2 separate regions of the Homo sapiens genome follow, and region 2 is linked to region 1. The links are contacts of gene promoters, found by promoter capture Hi-C in blood cells and fetal thymus (Javierre and others, 2016). All regions are on one chromosome and are shown on one strand. The core of a region is centred on a gene start or on the middle of the fragment in contact, and the rest is flanking DNA. Distances in the headings are between cores, read along the strand shown.

Evidence for each region. Contacts are between HindIII fragments. The CHiCAGO score rates a contact against its expected background, and 5 or more counts as called.
Region 2: a fragment that was not itself captured here is called in contact with the fragment with the promoter of IFT172 in region 1 in 1 of 17 cell types (naive CD4 T cells); the score reaches 5.2 in naive CD4 T cells.

The regions. Positions count from the first base shown.
Region 1 is chr2:27,484,627-27,491,549 of GRCh38, forward strand. It overlaps IFT172 (intraflagellar transport 172), which reads right to left and starts at 5,117. Exons shown (of 48, transcript NM_015662.3): 1 at 4,989-5,117; 2 at 734-877; 3 at 392-504. The coding sequence starts at 5,027. The HindIII fragment of the contact is 7,682 bases long and covers 1,416-6,923 here.
Region 2 is chr2:27,369,896-27,376,818 of GRCh38, forward strand. It overlaps SNX17 (sorting nexin 17), which reads left to right and starts at 721. Exons shown (of 15, transcript NM_014748.4): 1 at 721-911; 2 at 1,374-1,448; 3 at 2,728-2,845; 4 at 3,352-3,416; 5 at 3,966-4,076; 6 at 4,190-4,280; 7 at 4,451-4,538; 8 at 4,794-4,863; 9 at 5,166-5,258; 10 at 5,611-5,814; 11 at 5,951-6,076; 12 at 6,211-6,288; 13 at 6,418-6,492; 14 at 6,584-6,625; 1 more. The coding sequence starts at 849. The coding sequence ends at 6,824. EIF2B4 (eukaryotic translation initiation factor 2B subunit delta) reads right to left here and starts at 443. Exons shown (of 13, transcript NM_001034116.2): 1 at 389-443; 2 at 1-24. The coding sequence starts at 419. RefSeq lists enhancers at 1-650, 124-403, 624-713, 651-1,612, 1,014-1,103 and 1 more. The HindIII fragment of the contact is 1,155 bases long and covers 1,622-2,776 here.

The DNA of each region.
Region 1 (6,923 bases), core at 3,867-6,366:
AAATTGCCAAAAATGATGCTGAGGGAAGAGAAGAAAGAGCAGATTTCTTCCCTGGCCCAGTAGTATTTCTGACTACTCTGTAGGAGCCCTGAAAGGAGGTATATGAGGGAGCCTAAGCAGCTTCAGAACAATAACAAAGATGTGACATCACTCTGGGCTTCCAGGATCTCACAGGGCCTCCTGTTGACCTTGGACTGTTTCCTCCAGGGATGGGATTGAAGAACACGTGGGACAGGTGAAGGCAGAAAAGCAAAAACAGACTCCAGAAAGTCTCTGCCTTCAATGGCCAAGCTTGGCTTCTCATCCCCTGTATTTCCCCTCCCCAGTGAGGCATTTCTCTTGCCTTCCCCTTCTTTCCTGGGCCATCCCATCTCCCAGTCTCTATCCTCACCAATCTTCTCCAATCTTGTAGACATAGATGATGTTGTCAGTCTGTCCTATGGCAATTTTAGTGGAATCAGGAGAAAAAGCCATGCCCTTCACCATATAGCTCTTCCTGCCATACTAAGAGTTTAAAAAAAAAAAAAGAAAGAAAAAGAAGTAATGAGTACACATGAAAGAGAAAAGAGAAAAAAAGGCATATGTGTGCTCCTAAGGGAGCTTGAGGATTTATACTGAGAAAAAGGTGGGGTATGCCATTTCCTATGCTGATGGCTAGAAGGCAGACTACGTCTTTCAAGTTGTGAGACCCCATCAATAGGTTAAATAAGGTACACATGAATACACTGTTTACCTTCATGTCAGCTGGTTTGGTGGAGAATTTATCTCTCCGTTCTCCATGTTCATCATACAGCAAGACCACTCGGTCCACTGTGCAGACAGCAAATTTGGCATTGTTCTGGGACCAAGCCATGCAGGTCACCTTTGCAGCTCCATCCTGTAGAGGCAAAGGGGTAAAAACAAACCCATGTGCTGGTCTAGAATGCCAAAAGCATTTCTAGCTTCATTAATTCTAGTGTAATACTGGTCAATTTTCTTCCTGTCACGGTTCTATCCTCAAAACAAAGAGATGCCTGTGGCCCATGCTGGTCTCCAAGGCCTTCAGATCCTGGACTGTGAGAACAACAGGCTTCTAGAGACTCATATGCAAATGCACTAAGAGGCAGGGTGCTAAGTCAACTGTATCAATGAATCCCTGCAACGGCCTCCTCGTTTCCAGGTCTGCTACTGAAATAAATTCAATTAGTCTGGTAAGTTTTGGTCATTAGCCATTCATTCAATTAATATTTTTTTAGCACCTTATTGATCAAGGCACTTGGCCAGGGGCTGAGAGAGAGACAAAAAGCAAACCATAGATCCTGCCTCCACGTCTAATAAGATGGTGCAAAATAGAAAAGTCCTATTAAAGTATGTATAAAGTACTACAATAGTTTGGAGAAGCCTGAGAGAATTTTATGCTTAAATTATCAAAATTAAGCTTTGAAGAATGAATGCAGTTGAGTAGGAAGTTATCTGAGATGGGAGGAATGGCAATGAGCAAAGGCAAATTCTGGACAAGAAACAGTAATTTAGTTTATTTGAAACTATTATACCTTATAAATAGTAGAATAGACGGGGTAAGGCAGGAAAAACAGGCCAGCTCAGGAAGTCTTTGAAGCCAGGCAAAGGAGTTTGGGCTTATTTGAAAGGAAAGGGAGAGACAGTGAGAGTTCAGGATGGGCGAGTACGAGTTGAGACTCAGGACGAATAATCCCACTTTCTTTTCTTCTTAACTACCCACTTCAGAGAAACCCAAGTTAGAAGTTATCTCCAGGTGAATTATTCTGACCAGATCTGACCCTTCCAACACTAGCTCTGGTCCTAAGGGACTAGCTCTGCTACTAAGGGTTTCCTTCCTTGAAAACAAAACATTTTATTCTGCTTTTCTTCTGCCCCAATTGTTTAATTATTTGGACACTAGAGTTCTGGCTTCAAACATTGACACTTTACACTCCAAACTCACCTATCTCCAAAGTCAGAAGTAAAAAGTCTATTTTCCTGCAAATCCTCAAACCAGAAAATAGCCACACCACCATCACTATGATCCTCTAACTCTTCATTATATTAGGTTAGAAGGCCTGAGGGCTCCTCATCAATCTTTGCTGATCCTCCTGCTTTATCGCTTTGCCCAATTCTGGGCATTCAGCCCTACCTGCATCATGACATCATCTTATTTTGAGAGACTGAAGGAGGATTTCATTTCCAATTTTTCCATTAGGGCGGAGAAATTTTTAAAGTACAGATTCAATGGACAGCTTGCTGAGCAATGAGCACAAATCTCTGTCTTTTTATTTTTTTCTCCAACTGAGGAGAGAGCACAACTATCTTTGTTCTAATTTCCTTCTTTTTTTTTTTTTGACGGAGTCTCACTCTGTCCCCCAGACTGGAGTGCAGTGTCACAATCTCAGTTCACTGCAACCTCTGTTTCTTGGGCTCAAGCGATTCTCCTGCCTCAGCCTCCCAAGTAGCTGAGGCTATAGGCGTGTGCTACCATGCCTGGCTAATTTTTTTATATTTTTGGTAGAGACATGGTTTCACCGTATTGCCCAGGCTGGTCTTGAACTCCTGACCTCAAGTGATCCACTCACCTTGGCCTCCTGAAGTGCTGGGATTACAGGCGTGAGCCACCACGCCCGGCCTGTGTTCTCATTTCCTCCTATTGTCCAAATGCCACACCCTCTGTGAAGCCTTCCTGATTTCCATAATCAATTAATTCTCCTTTCTCTACAATATGTACCTCACTAGATTTTTTTATTAAGTGAGGTAGGGAATAAAATAATAAGAGCTTGCCTTTAACAAGTACTTACCATAGAATAGGCATTTTGATAAGTGCTTGACAAGCATAATCTCATTTTACCTCATAACACTGAGGTAGATGCTATTATTATCCCCCTTTTACAGATAGATGAATGGAAGCCCAAAAAGATTAAGTAATTTGCCCAAGTTCACATATACAGTTTGTAAGTGGTAGGACCATGATTTATTTATTTAATTAATTTATTTTTTGAGGCAGAGTCTCGCTCTGTCACCCAGGCTGGAGTGCAGTGGTGCGATCTTGACTCACTGCAACTCTGCCTCCTGAGTTCAAGCGATTCTCCTGCCTCAGCCTCCCGAGTAGCTGGGATTACAGGCATGCGCCACCACATCTAGCTAATTTTTGTATTTTTAGTAGTTTCACCACGTTGGCCAGGATGGTGTCGAACCCCTGACCTCGGGTGATCTGCCTGCCTCGGCCTCCCAAAGAGCTTGGTTTACAGGCATGAACCACTGCGCCTGGCCTAGAACCATGATTAAATCCATGTATGTGTAAATCCATAAACCATAATCCCAATTTCTTTATTAAGGTACCCCAGTACATATTACACACTCAGTTATGGAACATCTTATTTATTTTTAAGACACAGCCTCACTCTGTCACCCAGGCTGGAGTGCAGTGGTGTGATCACGTCTCACTGCAGCCTCGACCTCCTGGGCTCAGGAGATCCTCCCACTTCAGTGACCCCAGCAGCTGGGCCTACAGGTGCTTGCCACCACACGAGGCTATTTAAAAAAAATTTTTTTTTTTTGGACAAAGTCTCACTCTTGTCCCCCAGGCTGGAGTGCAGTGGCACGATCTCGGCTCACTGCAACCTCCACCTCCCGGGTTCAAGCGATTCTCCTTCCTCAGCCTCCTGAGTAGCTGGGATTACAGGCGGCTGCTGCCACGCCCGGCTAATTTTTGCATTTTTAGTAGAGATGGGGTTTCACCATGTTGGCCAGGCTGGACTTGAACTCCTGACCTCAGGTGATCCGCCCGCCTCGGCCTCCCAAAGTACAGGGATTACAGGTGTGAGCCACCGCACCTGGTCAAAATTTTTTTGTAGAGGTCTTGGAATCTTGGGCTCAAGTGATCCTCCCACCTTGGCCTCCCAAATTGCTGGGATTACAGGTGTGAGCCACTGGGCCTGGCCAGACATCTTATTCTTATTAGCTTTGTATTATTCTGTCCTTTGAATTTTGAATGTCCTTTCCTCTTGTCTATCAATTTTTCACACTGCTTTTCAGTTTACAATGCTCTTTTGTGTATATTACTCTATATAACTCTTCCCCAAGTCCCCTAAAGTTGCTATTAGTACTCATGTTTTTTCAAATGAAGAAGTTGGTGAGTGCTCCGAGACATTGTATAATAAAGGCTAAAGTTAGAGATATCAGGTCATTTGTTTAAAGTACTGGTGGCCAGTCTGGGCAACATGGGGAAACCTCGTCTCTACAAAAAACAAAAACAAAAACAAACAAAGAAACAAAAAATTACCCGGGCGTGCTAGCGCACGTCTGTAATCCCAGCTACTTGGGAGGCTATGGCAGGAAAATCCCTTGAACCCGGGAGGCGGAGGTTGCAGTGAGATCGAGCCACTGCACTCCAGCCTGGGCAACAGAGCAAAACTCTGTCTCAAATAGTTAAATAAAGTAGTGGTTGACCTGAAATAAGGACAAGGTAAGAAATTTTAAAAAGAAAATAAGAAAGTAGTGGTGGAGCTAGGACTTAAATTCTGGTGTGCTAACTCCAAAGCCCACCCTTTCTTCACCATGTTTCAGGGCTCCTCCCCTAGTGCCCAGCCTCTCCTGAATCAGAATACACGGTTCGGTCTTTGCACTCCCCCTTCAGGGCTTGCACCTAAGGCGCTTATTTAATTATGGGCACATGCATACTCGCTGCTTACATGTGCACCTCACCCTCTAATACGAGCCTCCTGAAGGGAGGGACATAAGTCGGGTGGTTTGGGATTCCTACGAACCCCAGCATGGGGCCTGTACACAACTGATGTGAATGAAATGTAAGGAAAGCTACAAGTCCTTAGCCCTGCATCTCGCCTCCTGGACGCTGTATCGACAGGCCAAGATCCAGATCATCGCTATATCCCTTACAGCCTTCTGCACACAGTAGGAGGTCAACATCATTAAACTTCAGTTCCCCCACTTTTCTTGGAACATAAAGCATAAGGGGGAGGGACTGGCACGCAATTCCTCACCTGAGGGCTCAGCAGGGTCCTCAGGTGCTTCAAGTGCATGACGCACACCTGTCTTTCAGATGCTCCTAGACAGCGACAACTCCCGTGGTTACCTGGACAACCCGCCACGCAGCCGCAGCGACAGGCACTGACGCTTATGCGACCGGAGCGCAACACGCGTCGCAAGGTCACACGTAACTTTGCGGCGAAGCAAACAGAACGTGCGCAAGCGCGGTGAGATCTAGGGCGGGCCCTTGAGAGGGCTTCATGAATGTTCTCCTTGACCAATCCCGTCGCCGCATGCAAACTCAAGACCAAGCCCCGCCCACAAGCCTTCAGCCAGCCCCAGGTCCTACGTCATAGCGGTCCGTCTCGCTCTTCGATGTACCTGACTTTCTGAGTGCACTCTCTTAATCCTCACAACTCTGGAGGGAAGCAGGGCGGTTTCCATGATAGGCCTTCTGCAGTTGACGGAATTGTACCCAAATAGGTTACATGATTTGCACGGGATCGCAAGGCTAATAACGATAGCTAACGATGAATACTCAGTATGTGTCTGCCAGGTACTGTGTAAAGTATTGTACGTGCATTTATATCATTTAATCCCAAAACCACCTTTTGAAGGGGATAGCGTTATTATTAGTCTCATTTTACATAACAGGAGACTCAGGGCACTTGCTCAAACTAACACAGCCAGCGAAGGACTTGGAACTGGAGTTCAACCCAGAGTTAGTAGCTTTAAACAGCTTTTATGTTCCTTCTCAACTCCTAGCTCGCTCTCTCCATGCCACGATACTATAACCTGTCACATTCCCATCCCAATAAATGACATTTATTCTCAGAATCTGGAAGATGAGTGTTTTGGAACTAGCTGCCAAAGAAACGTAAGGTACCCTACTTCCTAATTGGGTAATGGTGGGTTAAAGACTGCTGTTTACATTGGAATGTTTTTATGGTTCAGTTTGTTGTTGTTGTTGTTTTGAGACAGAGTTTCACTCTTGTTGCCCAGGCTGGACTGCAATGGCGCGATCTTGGCTCACTGCAACCTCTGCCTCCCGGGTTCAAGAGATTCTCCTGCCTCAGCCTCCCAAGTAGCTGGGATTACAGGCATGTGCCACCACGCCCGACCAATTTTGTATTTTTAGTAGAGACAGGGTTTCTCCATGTTGGTCAGGCTGGTCTCAAACTCCCGACCTCAGGTGATTTGCCCGCCTTGGCCTCCCAAAATGCTGGGATTACAGGCGTGAGCCACCGTTCTCGGCCTGTGGTTCAGTTTTGAGGGCAGACCTGACTTGGCTCACCCGATAGGTTGTCTTGTGATACCTGGGGTTAGAGATTGGTTAAGTAGAAAAGAGACTGACTTGTTGATCTTTGGAGTCCCGTTCAGAATTTTTGGCCTATCTTCTAACATACCAGAGAGATTGAAATGCAGAAAGGAGTTATTCATAAGCCTGCTCTGAAATGATCCAAAGTTGGGAAGATCTGTAACTCTCCAGGAAGTGTAACATATGCTCTCCAGACAGACTGTGGGTCCAGAAGCCTTCCCCCACAGTGGTTTGCAAGTGTCAACAGGTGTTTGTCTCATGGCCACCAACCACCCCTTAGAAAATAGGAAAGAGCAGAGGACAGCCCCTATTTTCACAGGAAACAAGTAGGCCTCAGAGCTCAAATGAGAATTATTTTGACAGGGGAGTCCCAACCCCTCAGTTTTATTTTCAGAATCCTCCTCTGGATATGGTGGCAGAGCATGAATATAAACTCATTTATGAATTACAGTTATTACTGACTTTGACTGACTAAACAGAGACAGAGATGAAAGGGAATGCAAAAGAGGGAAGAACAGACACAGGAACACATAGGATAGGAGCATGTGGCACCAAGGAATCCATGAGTGTAGCTGTCCTTTCATTAGTCCCCAAGACACTGCTTAGTCCTTTTCTGACCATTAGCCCAGGG
Region 2 (6,923 bases), core at 949-3,448, 120 kb before region 1:
CCGCCTTCATCCCGGATCCCGAGTCTGCATCAGAAAACAGGGCACAAAGTGAGCCAGAGAGACTCCGGGAGGGTTTGGGGGCACGAGTACTCGGCGCAGCCGGCTGCTGGGTTGGCATGACCACGGATCCGCCGGCAGGCGCGAGGCGAGCCAGGGATCCGCGTGGGGACGCACTGCGCGGCGGATCAAAGGAATGGAGGGGTCACCGACCCTCCTCACAGCAACCAGCCGGTGCGCGGCGCGGGACTGCGCTCGAGACTGTGTAGACCGGAGCCCAGCGTGGCGCTGGAACGGAGCGGCGGGGCCCAAAGGCGCTCAAGGCCCGGCACTAGCTGTCCGGAGCTCGTCGGCTCCGCGTACCAGTAGGCAGGCCCGGCTCTTCACTCACCCTCGCGAACAGCCACGGCCACAGCAGCCATCGCCCTCAGTCCTAGGCTCCGCCCGCCGTGGTCACGGAGCCGCCCCGCTGCCTCGCTCCGCGGCTGCAGGGTCCACAGCGCCACCTGGGCTGGAGGCTGAGCCGCAGAAGCGAAGCGCGCAGCCCCAATCGGACTACAATTTCCGACGGGCCCCGAGGCCCCGCCCCGCACTACGGGTTGCAATGAGGGCCAACTCCACTTTGGGCTCCCTATCCGGACAGGTGGCTCTTGCCCTTTAGACTACAGTTCCCAGCATGCCCAGGCGATTGCGTCCCAGAACCGACGTCCCACCGCCTTCCCACATCGGATCGCAGGGCTCCCAAAATGGCGAGTGAGGCTGCGGGGACTCGCTGAGCAGCGGAGGGGGAGCGTGCAGAGCCGCTGCGGCCCTCACAGTCCGGAGCCCGGCCGTGCCGTGCCGTAGGGAACATGCACTTTTCCATTCCCGAAACCGAGTCCCGCAGCGGGGACAGCGGCGGCTCCGCCTACGTGGTGAGGAGCGGCCGGAGCCGAGCCGGGCCGGGCAGGGGCGGGGATAACGGGCCCGAGCCATCTCGGAGCGGCCTCTGAGGCCTGACCGCCACCCTTCGGGCCTGGTCCTGGGCCGCCGACTCCCGACGGCCTCTCTGGGAGCTTATCTCATGTGTGTGATTCGTGCAGTGGTCGCCCGAGCTCCTGTAGGCCCTTAGGCCGGGTCGCTTCCCCGAGCTAGGCCGCAGCTGCCCTGGTGGGCGTCACTGGCCTCTTGGGCAGTGAGACTGCAACACAAGCGTCCGAATTTCCCCCGGACTGGCTCTTCAGCTTTGGGACTTGGCCCTGGCGAAAACAAGCGAACTATCCCTCGGGAGATTAGCGCGTTACTCCGGCGAGTTGCCAGGCAACTTCCGGCCAGGGTTCTCAGGGGGGTTGCGCAGACCGCAACCCTAAAATGCTTGACTACTTTTGTGTCCTCAGGCCTATAACATTCACGTGAATGGAGTCCTGCACTGTCGGGTGCGCTACAGCCAGCTCCTGGGGCTGCACGAGCAGGTGGGACTAGCACCCCTGCCTTGAGACAGCTTCAAGCCCTTCCCTACACGTGGACATCAGTGTCTCCCTTTACCCGCTCTTCTTGTTCCCGTAGGCTGTAGTTCCCCTTTAATCACTGCCACAGGGTAGGGCCCTGGTTTATCTTGTCTGACATTTCCGGGAACTCCCTAAGAAGCTTAATGTCCGCGCAACAACTGCTCCTTCCTGTTCTTATATTCTGGTTTTCTGTCCAGTCTTACTGCTCTAGTAGCCTTTACCCCTGCATGGACAAACCAACCCCTCCCCCCACTACCTCCACCCAGGCTGTCAAAGCACATTCCTTCTGTCATCTGAGCGGCAACTTGAAATTCTTTTCCCTGCTTATACAAACGATTCACCGATTTCCTTTTGTGTTCTTCGGCTCATTTCAGTGTGTTTAGCTGTGCCAATTATCGTTATGTATCTGTGATGCAATGTTTCTCCTCCTTCCTTACCAGATCTTAAACTCTATTTAACTCAGTAGAGCTCCACTGATAATTAGTTGTGCAACCCTGAACAAGTTACCTGATATCTTTTTTTGGGACGGAGTTTCTCTCTTGTTGCCCAGGCTGGAGTGCAGTGGCACGATCTCGGCTCACTGCAACCTCTGCCTCCTGGGTTCAAGCGATTCTCCTTCCTCAGCCTCCTGAGTAGCTGGGATTACAGGCGGCTGCCTCCACACCCAGCTAATTTTTGTATTTTTAGTAGAGAGGGGTTTCACTATGTTGGCCAGGCTGGTCTCAAACTCCTGACCTCAGGTGATCCACCCACCTTGCCTCCCAAAATGCTGAGATTACAGGCATGAGGCCTGTAGAAACTGATTTCTTTGGGCCTCAGTTTCTACAACTGAAAGATGGATTCTTTGATCTGCAAAGTCCCTTTAAGTCCTAAGATATTTTGTGAACAGACTTAGCTATTAACTGTGCACTTTATAAAGCCCTTTCCTTCCTTTAAGGGTTCAGTGAACAGTCTTGCTAGGTGGTCAAGGGGCTCCCTATAGGTCCTGGCCCAGTACAAATCCTCCCCGTACTGTGGAGGGGCTGACTTGTACACAGTAAAATAGAGCACAACTTATATCTAGGACAGCTCCCTTGAGGTGCTACCGCTGTCAAAGGAATTGTTTCTCAGATGACCAGGGTAGACAGGGGAACAGGGACTGAGGGAAGGGAGGGGCACCCAAGAGAACATTATGAGCATATGTAGATTGCCTCATCTCATTTTCTGTGTTTATGTGAAGGGTTGTATCTCTTTCTCTAAATAGCTTCGGAAGGAGTATGGGGCCAATGTGCTTCCTGCATTCCCCCCAAAGAAGCTTTTCTCTCTGACTCCTGCTGAGGTAGAACAGAGGAGAGAGCAGTTAGAGAAGTACATGCAAGCTGGTGAGTGGTTGCAGGAAACTAGGTTGACTATATTGAGGACTATGGGGAGAGACTTAAAAACAGCTGGTTCTGTGGAAGGGCCTGATTTAATTTCTAGATCTAGGAAGGCTCTTGTTTGATCTGTTATGCAGTTAGCAAAGTAAATAGTGTACGAGGATGTGTAACTCTGTGTACTAGCAAAACAATTTGGGCACTAACATCTATGAGAAATACTAGTATAACACTAGTCTTAATATCAGTGGAGAGAACTTAATTTGTATCTGATGTGCTTTAGATTAACATCATTGTTATTTCCCTAGTTCTATAGACTGGACTCACCTAGATGGCAGCCAAGGGTGGGGCAGGTGAAGAATTTATGCAAACAGTGAGTGAGGTGAGGCCAGCTGGGGGATGTGGCAGGCCACCATCAGCCCAGGAAATGGGGTCGGGGGAACCTACTGAGAGGAGGACTGGGGAGCCAAGAGTGAGTGCTAAGTTCCTGTAATAATGTTCTCTTGTCCTCGTAGTTCGGCAAGACCCATTGCTTGGGAGCAGCGAGACTTTCAACAGTTTCCTGCGTCGGGCACAACAGGTAGGGCTTTGGGTGGGACCAAGATTTAAGGAAAGGACCTTGCTGGAAGGTCATGTCTTTTATTTTTTTGAGACAGAGTCTTGCTCTTTTGCACAGGCTGGAGTGCAGTGGTGCGATCTCAGCTCACTGCAATCTCCGCCTCCCGGATTCAAGCGATTCTCCTGCCTCAGCCTCCCAAGTAGCTAGAATTACAGGCGCCTGCCACCATGTCCGGCTCATTTTTGTATTTTTAGTGGAGACGGGGTTTTGCCGTGTTGGCCTGGCTGGTCTCGAACTCCTGACCTCAGGTGATCCACCCGCCTTGGCCTCCCAAAGTGCTGGGATTACGGGTGTGAGCCACCACACCCAGCCAGGCCATGTCATCTTAATAACAGAGGAGTCATCTTTTTTAATGGAATGGAACTTCTATTCTTATGAAATCAAAGAAATCACAGCCTATATTTAAGCAGCTGAGAATAAAGACACACAAGGGACCTAGAAATAGAGTTGGGCATAGGTCAAGGCAAGGGACAAGGCAGTGCTTCCCATCCCCATGTGTGCTCACAACAGGAGACACAGCAGGTCCCCACAGAGGAAGTGTCCTTGGAAGTGCTGCTCAGCAACGGGCAGAAAGTTCTGGTCAACGTGCTAACTTCAGATCAGACTGAGGATGTCCTGGAGGTGAGGCGCTTGTTCAGCACTGCCCCTTCTTCCCCTACATCCTGGGGTCCTGGGCTTGGAGAATGATTGGAACCAGCCAGTATGATGAGCTGTACTTCTATCCCTATCCCCAGGCTGTAGCTGCAAAGCTGGATCTTCCAGATGACTTGATTGGATACTTTAGTCTATTCTTAGTTCGAGAAAAAGAGGATGGAGCCTTTTCTTGTGAGTTTCTCTGGACTTGACTGCAGTACAAGGGTACTTCAGTAGAGTTTGCAGCCCCCCTAACTCCCCACCCCCACCCCCAGAATGAACATTGCCTCAGGGCACTTCTTTCTTGATTTCCCTTCCTTTAAATCTCACTATATTTTCATTTTTTTTTTTTTAACCTGTAGTTGTACGGAAGTTGCAAGAGTTTGAGCTGCCTTATGTGTCTGTCACCAGCCTTCGGAGTCAAGAGTATAAGATTGTGCTAAGGAAGAGGTCAGGGCTGGGCCTGGAAGGGGAGGGGTGGGAGGTGCTGTGCTGGATTGGATTATTGGGCCACATATTGAGACAGAATAATCTGGACAAGGGGGTGTAGTGCTGGGTGTTTCTGCCAGGCCTCCCAAGCTTCCTCCCACTATACCATTAGCCCCTGATAGTTCCAGATTGCTCCTGTTTTGCCCATTTTCCATTCTACCTCTTGCCTTAACCCAGCTTAGCCCCATTACCCCTTTCCACCCCTTGGCCTCACAGTTATTGGGACTCTGCCTATGATGACGATGTCATGGAGAACCGGGTTGGCCTGAACCTGCTTTATGCTCAGGTGAGCTTGGAGCTGCCTCAGAACCCTTCCCCTGAAGAAAATAACGGGTGACTCACTCTCCCAAGAAAACTGCTGTCGTGTCTTTGTTCCCAATTTGTGGGGAAGTTCCTAGAATACTATCAGTGCTGCTGGCACAATATCTACTCTCCCTACTTTTATTAAGCTGACAAGATCAAGGACTTACTGCAGAGAGGTCGCTCAAGTGTGGGGCTAGGGGTCAGGCTGGACAGAGGTAATGGTAGACGCTTTCCTTGGATTGCTGACTGGGACCTCCTACTGCCTGCCCCTTGTCTCTACTATAGACGGTATCAGATATTGAGCGTGGGTGGATCTTGGTCACCAAGGAACAGCACCGGCAACTCAAATCTCTGCAAGAGAAAGTCTCCAAGAAGGAGGTGAGCCCTGCCTCCTCTCTGTCTTCCTCTAAGGGCTTGCAGTGGCGCGATCTTGGCTCACTGCAAGCTCTGCCTCTCAGATTCATGCCATTCTCCCGCCTCAGCCTCCCGAGTAGCTGGGACTACAGGCACCCGCCACGACGCCCGGCTAATTTTTTGTATTTTTGGGAGAGACAGGGTTTCACCATGTTAGCCAGGATGGTCTTGAGCTCCTGACCTTGTGATCTGTCTGCCTCTGCCTCCTAAAGTGCTGGGATTATAGGCATGAGCCACCGCGCCCGACCGGGGTTGCTTTTTCTGAGCTGCCCCATTCTCCCTCCTAATCTACCCCCATGTGATGACCATTTTTCAGTTCCTGAGACTGGCCCAGACGCTGCGGCACTATGGCTACTTGCGCTTTGATGCCTGTGTGGCTGACTTCCCAGAAAAGGACTGTCCTGTGGTGGTGAGCGCGGGCAACAGTGAGCTCAGCCTGCAGCTCCGCCTGCCTGGCCAGCAACTCCGAGAAGGCTCCTTCCGGGTCACCCGCATGCGATGCTGGCGGGTCACCTCCTCTGTGAGTCGGGTTAGGAGGGGGAAGGGCCTGGGTTGGGGGCCCGGCAAGCCTTGAGCTTAGGTATGGGCTGCAGCGGGTCAGGGAGCCAGACAGGTTGGTCAGAGTGAACTCAACCGAATTCCCCTTCCTCTCCCAGGTACCATTGCCCAGTGGAAGCACGAGCAGCCCAGGCCGGGGCCGGGGTGAGGTGCGCCTGGAACTGGCTTTTGAATACCTCATGAGCAAGGACCGGCTACAGTGGGTCACCATCACTAGCCCCCAGGTGTGAACCTACCCTCAGCCCTCCTCTGGAGCACCTTAAAGTGTAGAGTTTCCAGTACTCAATATGGGAGGCATTAGTGGTGCTGGGCTCAGAGTGACCACTCTCATCAAGCTGGACACTCTTCTTGCCCTCAGGCTATCATGATGAGCATCTGCTTGCAGTCCATGGTTGATGAACTGATGGTGAAGAAATCTGGCGGCAGTATCAGGAAGGTAGGCAGCAAGTGTGGACTGAGCAGTGAGCAGGTGTGCTCCCCTTGCCTTTTGTCCTAGATGTGAGGCTTGTCTTGAGAGGGAGGGGAAGTGATCCTGCCCTCACCGGCACCTTGTGTCTGTCCCCAGATGCTGCGCCGGCGGGTGGGGGGTACTCTGAGACGCTCAGACAGCCAGCAAGCAGTGAAGTCCCCACCACTGCTTGTAAGTATTACCTCCTGGTCAGAACCCTGGCTCTCAGCCCTGCCTCACCTCTCCTAGTGAGTTTCTGACACCTCTGCCTCTTCTTCCCCAGGAGTCACCTGATGCCACCCGGGAGTCTATGGTCAAACTCTCAGTGAGTTCCAGCGTTGGTGAGGTTGCTGTTTGTTGGGGGATCTTGCACGCCCAAGATCTCTGACCCCACCCTGCCTTTGTTACAGAGTAAGCTGAGTGCCGTGAGCTTGCGGGGAATTGGCAGTCCCAGCACAGATGCCAGTGCCAGTGATGTCCACGGCAATTTCGCCTTCGAGGGCATTGGAGATGAGGATCTGTAATCTCCACTGCTTGGATGTCTGCCCTCTACCCCAGAGGAATTTACAGAAACTTGCCCTGTGCCTGTGTCCCCCATGCTAGGGGCGGAGGGGTCTTTTCCT